Regions from separate parts of the Homo sapiens genome. Here all the other regions are linked to region 1. The links are contacts of gene promoters, found by promoter capture Hi-C in blood cells and fetal thymus (Javierre and others, 2016). All regions are on one chromosome and are shown on one strand. The core of a region is centred on a gene start or on the middle of the fragment in contact, and the rest is flanking DNA. Distances in the headings are between cores, read along the strand shown. Region 1 holds the start of TP63 (tumor protein p63). Region 2 overlaps TPRG1 (tumor protein p63 regulated 1). Region 3 overlaps TPRG1 (tumor protein p63 regulated 1). Region 4 has its middle 120 kb from the start of MIR944. Region 5 overlaps TPRG1 (tumor protein p63 regulated 1).

Region 1 (2,671 bases), core at 92-2,591:
GAGAATGTCAAGTTTTAAATAGCTTCTCCCTTCCATCCTGGCTGAAGCAACAAATAAAATATTTTTATGAAACACATTTTGAGTTAGATTTACTTACAGGGAAATGTCAAATTTCTCTGAAAGGGCTTTAGATTGTCTCACAACTTTGACATCTACTGATGTCACCTATTTACAGGTGTGTCCTGTGACTAGGGGGTGAAGGGAAGATGTGAACTCACCATGTTAGTGACCGTTAGATACACAGAGTGGTTTTTTTTCCCCCTGTTGGAGTCTATCCTAACTGAGCTTCTGAATCATATTTCATTCAATTTCCAAATCCACAAAACCAGGATAAGTTTACAGCCCATATTCAGAAAGGAAATAAATTATTTTGTGTGTAGACTTTCCTGATATTACACTGATTTGGGAATATATGAACAATTTTATGGTTTCCTTTCGAAGTAGGTCAAGTCAAAGCAAAACCAAAAACAGCAAAAACTGTAAGACATAAAGAATAGAGTGGAGCCGACTGAGAGATTAAAATAAACTAGAATATTTTTATTAACAGGCAATTTGAAATAATTTGTGCACTTCAGAATATTCTACAATAATATATTATTTCCAATTTTAATATCTTTAAGAAAATTACTATATTATATGTAAGTACATGTGCATGTGTTTGAGGTAGGATATTTAACTCAATAAAGGTTATTTTCTTTTATTCGGGTCAGGCAAAGCTTCTAAGGGGATGTGAAAGGGATATCTCTTTCTCTTAGCTGAGAGGAAGAGTGAGTTCTAAGTTAAATATAATCAAGGAATTTCCCTGTCTTTGCTATTTGAGATTGTGACCACAACAGGCGGTTGGCTGAAAGGGAAACTGAAGGGCGGGGAGGGAGGGAAATAGATGAAAAAACAAAACAAAACAAAACTTCCCTAAGCAGCTCTACAAAACATTTTAGCCCCAGAAATAGTCACAGAAATCCTCAAATCAAACCAGTATCCAGATACAAGGAAGTGTTATGTAGCTGGAGCAGGGTGGACACTCATCAGCTCAGTTCAGTTACAAAAGTCCAGGCTGCTGAAATTAAACTCTGATGCCATTCATGCCAGCATCCAATCACGACAGAGATCAGAAGTTCAGAGATGCCTCCAGCTCCAAATTGCCAACAACAAGTGTGGCTACTATACGTCAAGGACTCTGAAGCCGTGAGAGAGGGGGAAGAACAACAGTAGAGAGGATGCCCAGCTGGTAAGAATCGAGTGTTTATGAAGTTTTAGTCAATTGATGAATCTCATTGGCTAAAATCAAGAAACGCTCCGCCTCTTTGCAAATATGTATGAAGGAGAGAAGTGCCTAAACTTCTATGTCTGATAGCATTTGACCCTATTGCTTTTAGCCTCCCGGCTTTATATCTATATATACACAGGTATATGTGTATATTTTATATAATTGTTCTCCGTTCGTTGATATCAAAGACAGTTGAAGGAAATGAATTTTGAAACTTCACGGTGTGCCACCCTACAGTACTGCCCTGACCCTTACATCCAGCGGTGAGTTTGAATGTGACATAACTTCTCTCAAAACTTAATTGAAGTGCCTTGTGTATTATGAATGTGTCAGCTGTGTACAAAGAACAATTCCTCCTTGTTTAGTCAGCACAGTGATATTATTTTGGACTTTCTGTGGACTTAAAGTGGTCTGTGGACATATTTTCTGAATGTCTTTTTTGGTTGATATTTGGATCTACAAAGTGAAAAAATTTGAAGCGAATCTTCCCATTTAAAAAAAATTATCACGCCATTTAAGAATGTTTAAAATATATTATTTGCCTTGTTCAGCACCTACTCACTCAATAAGAAATTTCACTGGGCAGGGATATAATAATGTATGGATAATCTTCAAGTCAAAATAAACACCAAATAATTTTGATTTATACATTAAGAAATAGATAACTAGCCATTGTTGTACCAAACAGATTGTGGCTTGTCATTGCATTTTATAAGGAATATTTTTTGGTATGTTTGATAATGAAAATCTTTTGACAAATCTGACTTTTAAAGCTTGTGATTGTAGTAAATTTTATTTAGAAACATTTGCCTAGTACTAAGAGAGAATATTAGTGAGGGTGCACAATTGTGTATGTGCTTCAAATTAGACTTTGCTATTTTTAAACTGGTAAATGAAATCTGAACAGTGTTTTTCCAGTCATAAAGTTATGGGAGATATTCAAGTCATATGTAGCAATGTGATGTTAGTTTAACAGCATGAGATTTCGTACTTTATTTTATAAGACTAATGAGAGAGGTCCTTTGCGTGTTGAAAATGGTGAGGTTACAAAGGGTTAACTTGCCATTTACCACCTGTGTCTGTTGGAGCTTGATACTAGAAGCAGATTCTGCTCTCTCTGGGCAGGACTCACTTACTGTAGACTAGTAGAGTGTGAAAGATTTGTGATCTTCCTTTAACGTGATTTGCTACAACGTAGAACACTAATGTGAGCTATGTAGATTGTTTCTCTTCCTGTGAGGTTTCTGGTGGGTTGTGCGAAAAGGCAGAAGAGAAAGAGCAAGGCAGAAAGATAAATAGAATAAAGGAGATAAAAAGAAAAGGGTGAAAAAAGAGAGAGGGGAAGCAAGTTTGGGGTCTCCAAGGTTTCAGTGGAATTTGTTGGTGGTGGCTTGATTCGTGTCT
Region 2 (2,671 bases), core at 76-2,575, 390 kb before region 1:
TTTCTAATCATGGCAGAAAACAAAGGGGGAGTGAGGCATCTTGCATAGTGGGAGCAGGAGCAAGAGAGAGAGGGGTAGGTGCTACATACTTCTAAGTGACCAGATCTCACTATTGTGAGGACAATACAAAGAGGATGATACCCATTCCTGCTAAATCTGCCCTCATAATCCAATCACCTCCCATTAGGCCCCACTTCTAACACTGGGGGTTTAGTCCTCCTAGGCCTCAGGACCTGTGATGGGAGGACCCCCCAAGGAGGTCTCTAAAATGCCTGTGAGTTGTTTTCCCTATTGTCCTGGCTATGAGCATTTGCTCCTTTTTATATATGCAAACTTCTGAAGCCTACCTGAATTCTTCCCCTGAAAATTGGCTTTTTTTTTTCCTACCATATGGCCAGTCTTCAAATTTTCCAACTTTTATGCTGTTTCTTCTTTAAACATGAGTCCAACTTTAAGTCATTTCTTTGCTCATATGTATGAGTATAGGTTCTTAGAAGCAGCCAGGTCACATCTTGAATGTGTTGATGCTTAGAAATTTCTTCCACTAGATAATCCTAAATCATCACTCTCAAGTTGAAACTTCCACAGATACCTAGGGCAGAGGCACAGTGCAGCCAAGTTCCTTGCTAAGGCATAACAAAAGTGACCTTTGCTCCAGTTCCAAATAAGTTTCTCATTTACATTTGAGACTTAATTAGCCTGGCTTTCACTGTCTATATCACTATCAGCATTTTGGTGATAACCACTCAGCCAGTCTCTAGAAAGTTCCAAACGTTTCCTCATCCTCCTGTCTTCTTCTGAACCCTCTAAACTCATTCAACCTCTGCCTGTTACCCAATTTCAAAGTTGCTTCCATATTTTTAGGTATCTTTATAGTAATGCCCTATTCCTGGTACCAATTTTCTGTATTATTCTGTTCTCTCATTGCTATAAAGAAATATCTGCGACTGGGTAATTTATTAAAAAAAGAGGTTTGCCGTGTGCAATGGCTCACACCTGTAATCCCAGCACTTTGGGAGGCCAAGGTGGATGGATCACTTGAGGTCAGGAGTTCGAGACCACCCTAGCCAACATGGTGAAACCCCGTTTCTATTAAAAATACAAAAATTAGCCAGGCATGATGGTGCATGCCTGTAATCCCAGGCTGAGACAGGAGAATTGCTTGAACCTGGGAGGTGGAGATTTCAGTGAGCCAAGATCGAGCCACTGCACTCCAGCCTGGGTGACAGAGATGAGACTCCATCTCAAAAAAAGAAGAAAAAAAAGAGGTTTAATTGGTTCAGAGTTCTGCAGACTATACAGAAACTTCTGTTTCTAGAGAGGCCTCAGGAAGTTTCCAATCATGGCAGAAGGAAAAAGGGAACAAGGCATCTCACATGGTAGGAGCAGGAGCAAGAGAGAAAGTGGGGAGATGCTACACACTTTTAAATGACCAGATCTTACAAGAACTCACTCACTATCATGAGGAGAGTACCAAGAGGATGGCATTAAACCATTCCTGAGAAATAGGCCCCCATGATCCAATCATCTTCCATCAGGCCCCACCTCCAACACTGGGGATTACAATTCAAGATGAGAATTGGTGGGGACACAGATCCAAACCATATCAGTGATCTGTGTCTTCCCTCTTTTTTCTCTTCTGTTGATGATCATACCAATTCTGTTGGTTTTTAACAAGATCATGCTTTTCACTTGGTTAACTTTTACTATTGTTTTGCTAATTACTAATTAGTTGATCTCTATCTCTGCTCTCTTTTTTTGTTGTTGAGGCAGTTTCACTCTTGTTGCCCAAGCTGGAGTGCAACGGTATGATCTTGGCTCACCGCAGCCTCCACCTCCGGAGTTCAAGCGATTCTCCTGCCTCAGCCTCCCAAGTAGCTGAGATTACAGGCAGGTGCCACCATGCCCAGCTAATTTTTTGTATTTTTAGTAGAGATGGAGTTTCTCCATGTTGGTCAGGCTGGTCTTGAACTCTCGACCTCAGGTGATCCGCCTGCCTTGGCCTCTCAAAGTACTGGGATTACAGGTGTGAGCCACTGCGCCCGGTTCATTTCTACTCTTTTCCTTATTATTTCCTTTCTTCTACTTTGGGTTTACTTTTTCTTTTTTTAACTTCTTGAAGTGCAGCCCAAGGTTATTGATTTTAAACTTTCCTAATATGAACATCTACAGTTATAAATTTCCTTTTAAGTACTACTTTTGCTGCTTCCCAGAGATTTTGATATGTTGTGTGTCTATTATCATTTAGAGATATTTTTAAATTTTTCTTGTGATTTTCCTCTTGACCCATGGATGCATTGTAAGTTGTATTGGCTAATTTCCAAATATTTCAGGTTTTTATAGATATCTTAATTATACTTAATTCTAATTTAGAGAGCATACTGTCTTTAATTTTATTCCTTACTGATACTTTCGGATTTGTTTTATGAAGCTCATTATGATATATCTTTGTGAATTTGTCATGTACACTTGAATTTTATTTGTAGTTTTTTACAAATATCAATTGGGATATTGTGTTTGATAATGCTATTTAGATTATATATATTTTTACTGATTTTTTGTGTAGTTTTTTAATAGTTACTGAGTGGAGTGCAAAAATCTATCACTGTGGAATTTTCTAGTTTTCTTTTTAATTTTGTTAACTTTTGCCTCACATATTTTGAGTCTATTA
Region 3 (2,671 bases), core at 46-2,545, 350 kb before region 1:
TAATAAGATGTTTATGAAAAGTTATAGGGGTGTATGAATGAACGGGAAAACTGAATGTAGTCCTTCAGATAGGCAGAAGAGTTAGAGGAAAAGTTAGAATATTTGGTAGATCACGGGTCTTTATCTGGAAAACCTCTGAGCGGGATTGGTAGCCACTTCCCATTATGGTATGGTTGGATAGAATTCCTGCTGTGGAAAATAAGAGGGATTAGTGATATTAGACTATCTCTTTTGTAGCTCAGGGACTTATCTGTTAACATATATCTCATATCAGCACCTGTTGTTTAGCCCTGTTGTAAACAACAGGACTAGCACCATAGTGGTTAGTGAAGAGTGTAGAGTGAAAGCAGCCACGGGCAATATAGAAGTGAATGAATGCACCTGTGGATATACATAAATGAATGGAATAATATATATAAATGAATGGATATATATAAATGAATGGAATAATATATATAAATGAATGGAAGACATTTTAGATGACGAACTAGGACTTACTGAACATTGACTTCTTTCCGTATAGGATAAAATGTTTTTTGTAAGTATGAGTGTCATGAATGAGAGGAGACTCAGTTCATATAACATGTGTATTAATAATAGGAATTGAAAAACTTAGAGCTTTTTTATGCCCCTCTTTCCTACTTTATCTTGTATCTTTCCACTCCTCTAAGCTGCAGCATTGAGACCCATATCTAAAACTTCTCTACATGCACCTAAACAGGACCAATGGAAACCTATGCACATGGAGGCCAACAAGAAGCTTGGGGAAGGTAAAGGGAAGGTGATTGCCATAACAGAAAGAACACAGGACTCGAAGACAGATAGCCTGGGTTAAAGCTGTAACCCTACCATGGCTATTTCTCTTACCTGAGGCAAATTAATTCACCTCTCTGAGTCTTGGATTTGCTCTGTAATATATGAATGATACTATCTGCATCATAGCGTTGTATTAAAGATTAAGGGATATAATACATGTAGCAGACAGTTTTGATTGCCTACCCAACAATCACTTATGCCCTTCCCCCATCCTAAGCAGAACCACTTTTAACTACGTATCTATTCTCCTTCGGGAGACCCATGAGATTCAGGAAAGGTGGTCTGCAGCCCCAGGAGAAGAATGATGGCAAGCTCTCCTACATGTCAGTTAGTGTCTTAGCCATGACTGTATGACCCAATTCAGGCCCAATAACTGACATGTTATAGGACTTGCCATCAACCAAATGCTGTTAAAATGTCTTTACATACATTAACTCATTTAACACACTATAAGGTAGATACTATTATTCATTTCACAAATGAGGAAGCTAACGAATAGAGAGGTTAAGGAACTGCTTCAAGGAAACACAGCTAATAAATGGTAAAGCAAGGTCCACACCTAGGAGTCTGATCCCAGACTATGTGCTCCTAACCACTGAGCAATATCACTTCCCACAAATGTGAAAATCTCCTAGTAAACTTAAGGAAAACATGTTCTTTATTGATTAAAAAAATGGGAAGAAGTCCTACATTGTTGGGTCTGTATGTGAAACTTCGTACACCTTTAGCCATGTTACTACCCTGAGAGGAACTACAGTGAAATGTAGAGGACAGCAAAACAGAAAGATGAAAATATTTTTTGTTTAAAAATGTCATTTATATCCTGAGCCAATCACCCATTGAACTATGTTATCGTGGATGCATATGTGTGTGTGTGCACGTGAGTGTGTATAAGAGATATGGAGACATTTTTTATCCTAATTATATGACATGTAATTTTATAAATATAAAATCATAATATAAGAAGTATTTTTTTCATCTTTCTTAATGTATAAATCCAAGCTAAAGCTATGGTAAGCTTGTTTTCACAAAGATTGAGCACTAGTTGAGTTAGTAAATTTGTCCTCAATGACTTTACCTTTCTGGTTTGACATGTTTTCCATCTCAAGGCACCTACTGACTTCATCATTTCTTCTTTTACTCCAAGGTCTAAACCAGCTCCCAGAAAAGACCTTGAAAGACACCCACAAGAGGATTTTATTTTTATTTTTTATTTTTTTGGAGACAGAGTCTCTCTCTGTCGCCCAGGCTAGAGTGCAGTGGCATGATCTCAGCTCACTGCAACCTCTGCCTCCCAGGCTCAAGCAATTCTCATGCCTCAGCTTCCTGAGTAGCTGGGACTATAGGCACCCACCACCACGCTTGTCTAATTTTTTGTATTTTAGTAGAGACAAGGTTTCACCATGTTGCCCAAGGTGGTCTTGAACTCATGAGCTCAGGCAATCCGCCCGCCTTGGCTGAGGTTTTTAAATATTTGCAAATAGACCGAAAAAGTTTCTTAACCCAGGGCAATGTCAGTAGGCATAATAGTCCTTTCCAAAAAAAAAAAAAAAAAGGCAGCAGCATAGGTAGTGGAATCTTAGGCATCAGTGGATAACATGGTGTTATTTTGGGCAGTGGGTCAGCCAGGTGCTCCATAAGTCATATCTTGTAGGCGTTTGTTCTTTCAGCAAGCCAGGCCAGCTCTGGTTGCTACTTCTACATACTCTTCTAACACCTGTATTTGCCTGAACATGCAGTTCAAAAGACAGAGAGAGTGGGGGAGAGGGTATTAAACGTGTATTTTGTGCCTCATTTTTTGTCCCATTTCCTCTTCCATCTCTCTCCTTTTTGTTAATTCTTTCTTCCTCTCTCC
Region 4 (2,671 bases), core at 81-2,580, 320 kb after region 1:
TTGTTTACATCTGTTTTTTTCCACTTTGAGTTCCTTAAAAGAAGGGATAACATTTTATTCATCTTTAAATGCCTCCCTAAGCCTACAACGGCACGGCCACTCAAAAACTCTCTGTGAAATGAATTCATACATGACCAGGGCTTTACGACATCACCTTCTCTGTGCCTGTTTGTTTTTTCCCATTTACACAATGAAGATGGCATTGACGTGTCTCTCAAGATAATTATGTAGTTACATATGATTGCTACGTGCTTCAAGACCATAAAAAAGCTTTATAAAGCCAACCACGATTACAACCTTTGAAACAATGGAATATACGATTAACAAGTGGAAAGAGATGAGACATACCAGGTAATGCTTATTGTCCATTCCCTATTTCTACCTCCACCCACCACCAGGTAGTAACTCAGAGGTAAAAACATAAACTTGGAATAAGAGAGGAGGGTTTACCTCGGGTCTGGATAAGATTATTAGGACCGATGTCATCACGCTGCCGTCATGCGGGAAGGCACCTAGGTCTGATGAGAGAGGCCCAGGGCAAGATTCCCATATATATAGGTAACACTCAATTCACTGTTGAAATGAGGCTCAAATCAAGAAGGCACGTGGCCTTATCTATTCGAAATTGATTCGTCCTTCAAAAGCAGAAGATATCAGATAATTATAAAAGGGACTGTTAAGGTAGAAAGACTGTCAAACTCTAGGCTACCCTGGCTCTCCTCTGTGGCCATTCTACCAAAATAAAGAGAGGGGGTACAGCATGTCTTATTCACCTTTTGTTCTCCCTTCTCCTAAATGTACCATATAAAATGACTAGAAAACATGTGTCATATGTTGACTAAACGAAGCATTCATTTAGATTTTCCTCCCCAGCAACATGTCTGGAAAAAAAATGATAGGAACATCTTGTTTGGTTATTTTTATTGCGGGCCCTTAATAAGATAGTTGAAGCCAGAGGTGCCTCATTAACCCAACTTTTTACAGCTGATGCCATCCATTGTAGAGTGAAACAGAATCAATAGTCAGATTGTTCCCAACTTGGCTTTGCCCAGCCTCGGAGGTCAGCAGTGGGCACAGAAAACACTGTGAATTACAAGGAGGAGGAGGTAAAGGGGAAGCTCTGACAGAATGAGTCTGCAGCTCCAACCCAGCAGTGAGCTCAATGAGTGGCTGATGTTACTTGTTTTGATGTGTTTGAAGAAATCAACCAGGTTCAGGAGAAAAAAAAAAAAAAAAAAAGTCTATATGCCTCCTGTTGGAAACATCAAATTATCAGGGAGTAGAGGATTTGTGGGTGGGCAGTTGGAACTATGTGAGACGTCATTTCACATCACAGCCTTCTTGGCAGGAGGCAGAGAGGGCTTGTAACACGGACTTGTGGTCTGGAGTTTTTGCCAATGGCTCCTGTTTCCCTAAAGTGCTCTGGATGTGGGAACAGGTCAACATTTTCCCACTTCTCAGCCATACCACTGTCAGTCAGCTCAGAATGTTCAATGCTTTGGCATAAGGAACTGGTGAGGCGGCCCCCATTACCTCCTTTCTTGACGTCAGTGAGGGAGTCATTCCCTGTGGTTCTCTTGTGTGAAATAATTCAGCATTTGTACTTCAATTAAAATTCACAGGTATATATTATTAAATAGCACTGACTCATTCCATGGCTTCTCCTCAGCTGAGGAAGTGCCAAAAATGTTATGATGTCAATGATGAAGAGTGCATTAAAAGTCTTAAGAGTGCGTTAAAACTGAGATTTCCTTGTCAAACAATGTAGGTTCGGGGCTGTGAAGAAAGCACTTCGCCCATCCACAGTATCACTCTGTCCTGTGTCAGATTTTTCTAAAGAAGAAATTTAAGTTCAAGATTCTTTTTGCCTTTGAGGGAGAGAAAAATGATACCTGACTAGAATCCTCTTCCCTTTTGTGAGCTTCATAAAAGCAGTTCAAGGCTCAAGGTATGTCTTTAAAAATAGGGCTGAATCAAATTGAATAATACAACTCGTATTCAATATATCACAGAGGAGAGAAGAGGAAGTATGCCAACATACATCCCTCAGCAGGAAAATAAAAGAGGAGAAAAAGGTTTTCTTGATTTGGTAAAATCAGACTTTTTTATTCACATTTATTATTTTATATTTAATATGCCTAGAAGCACGGCCAGGGGAGCAACAACCCTGGTGCTCTTTTCTCCCTTCTGACCCAAAAGACTGTGCTTCTAGCTCAGACCTGGACACTCTGAGCCACGTGACCCCAGGTAATCACCTCTCTCCACTGCTCTCCATGTCCTCATCTGCAAAATGGACATCACGATCCATGCCCAGAATACCTCCTGGGGTTCCCAGTGTGTGAACATGCTCTGTGTCATAAGCATTCAAAACAATAATATAGGTGAAAATAAAAGCTTTGTGAGCTGCAGACTTTTCACACAAGGGAAGGATCATCACCAAGACCAACGGTAATTCCTCAGATAACACAGATGAGATGTACTATTCATACACATTGGACTATTTAACCTAGGCTGACTCAAGCACATTCAGCACTTCGTGAGAATTAGAAAAGACACCCTTTCTGGAAAGATATAGCCCTGCAGGTCCATAGATTGGTAAGCAAGTACCATCTCTGGGCAAATAGAATAAGACATCCCTTCCACCAGCTGGACAAAGCCCTGTGCCAGGGTT
Region 5 (2,671 bases), core at 120-2,619, 310 kb before region 1:
CTTATACCATCTTTTGTTCAAATATATATTTTTTAATAACAGACCTTTTTCTTCTAAAGAAATCTTTTGTAGAAGCAGCATATACGAAGCAGATAAAAGTAGGTTCAATGCGGTTGGAGTGAAGATGAGAATGCCACAGGCATCTTTCTTTCTAGGCCTCAGAGGTGCTGCATATGGAATGTCCATGGATCGCAGAGGGTTTTGAAGACCATGTTTTCAAAAACACTGTCTTAACACTCTATTGTCATTGCTCTTTTCCCTCTTATTTCCTCTTTGTCTCTTCCCGACTTAGATCTAATTTTCAACAACCCAGGAAATTATCTCATATGTTTGCATCTCTCAAGTTTCTTTTCTTTTTTCTTTCAGAGTCTTATTTTATCTAAATTTATGTAGAAAAAAAAGCTTTGAATGTTGACTACATAGACATTACTACAATAAGCTTTTTGCCTTTCCCAAGACTCAAAATTGACACATCTTTGTTGATGTTTAAGTTGAAATTCCAGCCAACTTTTTTTTGACTTTTATGTGAAGTTTAAAGTCTTTTCTTTGAAAAGCTTGCTTCCTCAATTTCAAAGATTTGTCCTCTGATATATTTATAAACATCAATTTAATGCAGACATTCAAACCCTAAACCTTGAATAACTCTTATTTTATTTTGTCTTTGTTTACTTCCATTAATTTTTTTTTCTTTCCCTCTCTTCCGCCTTTACAGCACCCACTTTTTCTTCCCCCCATGATGGCAAATATTGTTATAGTCCCCAAGGCAGGGAACTTCTATTCAGACTGTAAAAGGAAATGTTGAAATCCATAGCTGTCCTGTCAACAGTAGTGGAATGAAAAGTCGTTGGATTGTTTTGGCACTGGTTCTGAAGCAGGCATAATTGGCAAATTATTATAATACTGCTGCCCGAAAATCCCCATTTGCCTCAAGATAGTGGCATTTATTGGCAGAAGCCTCTGAAATGTCCAGCACATTCTTTTGAGTTACCATTTAAGGATCAGCCTGACAATCGACTTCTCTCTGCACATTTGCCCCCTTTGTAACCTAAGCCAGACTGTTCCCAAATGACCTTCTAAAGGACACAGTGCACCATCATCAATGGAAACAGTTCAGAAAGGATGACAGGAGGGAGATGTTTCTTAGTTCTGAGAGCCAGTCTGTAACAATGGGATAAGCATTTAATGGAATCAAAGCTGTTTTGCATAAAGAGTGAACTCAGAGACGACAAGAGGGTCTTTATGAATTCCCTTCACATTTTGTAAAAACTGTCATATATAGGCTATCCCCTTAATTGATAAATGGGATCTAGAAAGCGGTATTATGACCAGAGGGTGAGAAGATTTAGGAATTTGGATAGCAGTTCAAGATAAGAAAGAACTTCTTATAGTTATAAATTTTCAATGATGGAATGGGTTGCTTCTTTAAACAGTGAGCCCACCATCACTTGGTATGTTCAAGGAAAGACTAGATAAAGTCGATATTGTGAGAGGAATTGCTGTATGATACCGTTTGGAGAAATGATTGACATAATCTTTTAAGGCCGGTGACCCTATCATTTTCCAAATAATTGTTGCTAGTACTTAGTTAATTAGACCCATTTTTTTCTTAGGAAAGAGTTGGATCAATCATGGGAGACCCTGAAAAATTTCCTTACCTTTCCTAAGGTTTAATTTCCTCTTCTGCGAAATGGAGACAATTATATTACTTTTGCTTATTTCATAAAGATCTTGTGAGGATTCAATGAAATGAGGTTAAATTCTTTTATTAAACAGAAAGTTTTGAGTATTTGCCTAGAGAGTGATGTGACTTTTGCAGCAGAAGGTGGGAAAACATCCAAGGGAACTACATTTCCTCCAGAAATTGTTTCTTCATTACCATCGACCTACTGATTATGGTTTTCTCATTTTACACTTGGTGTTCTTACTTGGGATCTTTGTCCTTAAGCTCAACAGGGAGCCACAACCCAGGGGACCTATGTGTACACTTGGAGTTTTTATCAGACTATCATTTGAACTTACCACTACAGTTTAGCAAATGGCATGATGAGTTTGATTGATAATAGGAGTAGACGCAAGATACATTAAGTAGAGTACAAAGCATTTCATAACCAAAATGTCATGGTTGGAGGTCTTCATTATTCGGTCTTTATCTCATTCAGGAATTTCCACTTGAAAAATCTCTGATAAGCTTTATTTCAGAAACTGCTTGAACAGCTCCACTGACAAATGCCTCACTATCTTCTGATACATCGTAGGCAGTTCTGAGGGTGAGAAAGTTCAAAGCAGATAGATGTTTTAACACAACAGGAGGACTTTTAAACAATCACCAGGACTCACTCCTCGGTGGTCAATTGGGCCTGTTTGGAGGCCTGACCTTTGGTCATCTTAAGGTCATCTAAGGCAGAAAAGAGAAGCTCACTTATAAGTTGGCACTTCTGAATCATTTGCCTTGAGGTCCATTTTTTATTCAGCCTTTGTTTAAACCTTCTTAGGAAGCCAGTTTGTAGAGTTCTGGGGATAAGAAGGCAGAAAAACCATGTCAATTCAGTGCTTTTATTTCACAGAAAATGAAGCAAAGGCCTAGAAACTAGAAAGACATTTCTCAAAAAGAAGATGGTGAACTTTTGGAAATACTGAGATTAGACTACATTTTCCAATTTCTATCCCTAGC

What was found. Contacts are between HindIII fragments. The CHiCAGO score rates a contact against its expected background, and 5 or more counts as called.
Region 2: a contact is called between a fragment that was not itself captured here and the fragment with the promoter of TP63 in region 1, in 1 of 17 cell types (activated CD4 T cells). The highest score is 5.0, in activated CD4 T cells.
Region 3: a fragment that was not itself captured here is called in contact with the fragment with the promoter of TP63 in region 1 in 3 of 17 cell types (naive CD8 T cells, activated CD4 T cells and non-activated CD4 T cells); the score reaches 7.1 in naive CD8 T cells.
Region 4: a fragment that was not itself captured here is called in contact with the fragment with the promoter of TP63 in region 1 in 1 of 17 cell types (megakaryocytes); the score reaches 5.0 in megakaryocytes.
Region 5: a fragment that was not itself captured here is called in contact with the fragment with the promoter of TP63 in region 1 in 1 of 17 cell types (activated CD4 T cells); the score reaches 5.1 in activated CD4 T cells.

Annotation. Positions count from the first base shown.
Region 1 is chr3:189,630,048-189,632,718 of GRCh38, forward strand. TP63 (tumor protein p63) reads left to right here and starts at 1,342. Exons shown (of 14, transcript NM_003722.5): 1 at 1,342-1,530. The coding sequence starts at 1,469. RefSeq lists a promoter at 657-1,466 and a cis regulatory region at 859-869. The HindIII fragment of the contact is 1,324 bases long and covers 715-2,038 here.
Region 2 is chr3:189,243,174-189,245,844 of GRCh38, forward strand. The region is part of intron 4 of TPRG1 (tumor protein p63 regulated 1); the gene reads left to right. Among named protein-coding and RNA genes, the nearest start is that of TPRG1-AS2, 3.9 kb to the left of the region's middle. The HindIII fragment of the contact is 4,979 bases long and covers 1-2,671 here.
Region 3 is chr3:189,279,862-189,282,532 of GRCh38, forward strand. All of the region lies in intron 4 of TPRG1 (tumor protein p63 regulated 1), which reads left to right. Among named protein-coding and RNA genes, the nearest start is that of TPRG1-AS2, 41 kb to the left of the region's middle. The HindIII fragment of the contact is 1,074 bases long and covers 759-1,832 here.
Region 4 is chr3:189,952,233-189,954,903 of GRCh38, forward strand. No RefSeq gene overlaps it. Among named protein-coding and RNA genes, the nearest start is that of MIR944, 120 kb to the left of the region's middle. The HindIII fragment of the contact is 2,124 bases long and covers 269-2,392 here.
Region 5 is chr3:189,321,697-189,324,367 of GRCh38, forward strand. TPRG1 (tumor protein p63 regulated 1) reads left to right here. Exons shown (of 6, transcript NM_198485.4): 6 at 1-2,671. Among named protein-coding and RNA genes, the nearest start is that of TPRG1-AS2, 82 kb to the left of the region's middle. RefSeq lists an enhancer at 2,370-2,671. The HindIII fragment of the contact is 1,634 bases long and covers 553-2,186 here.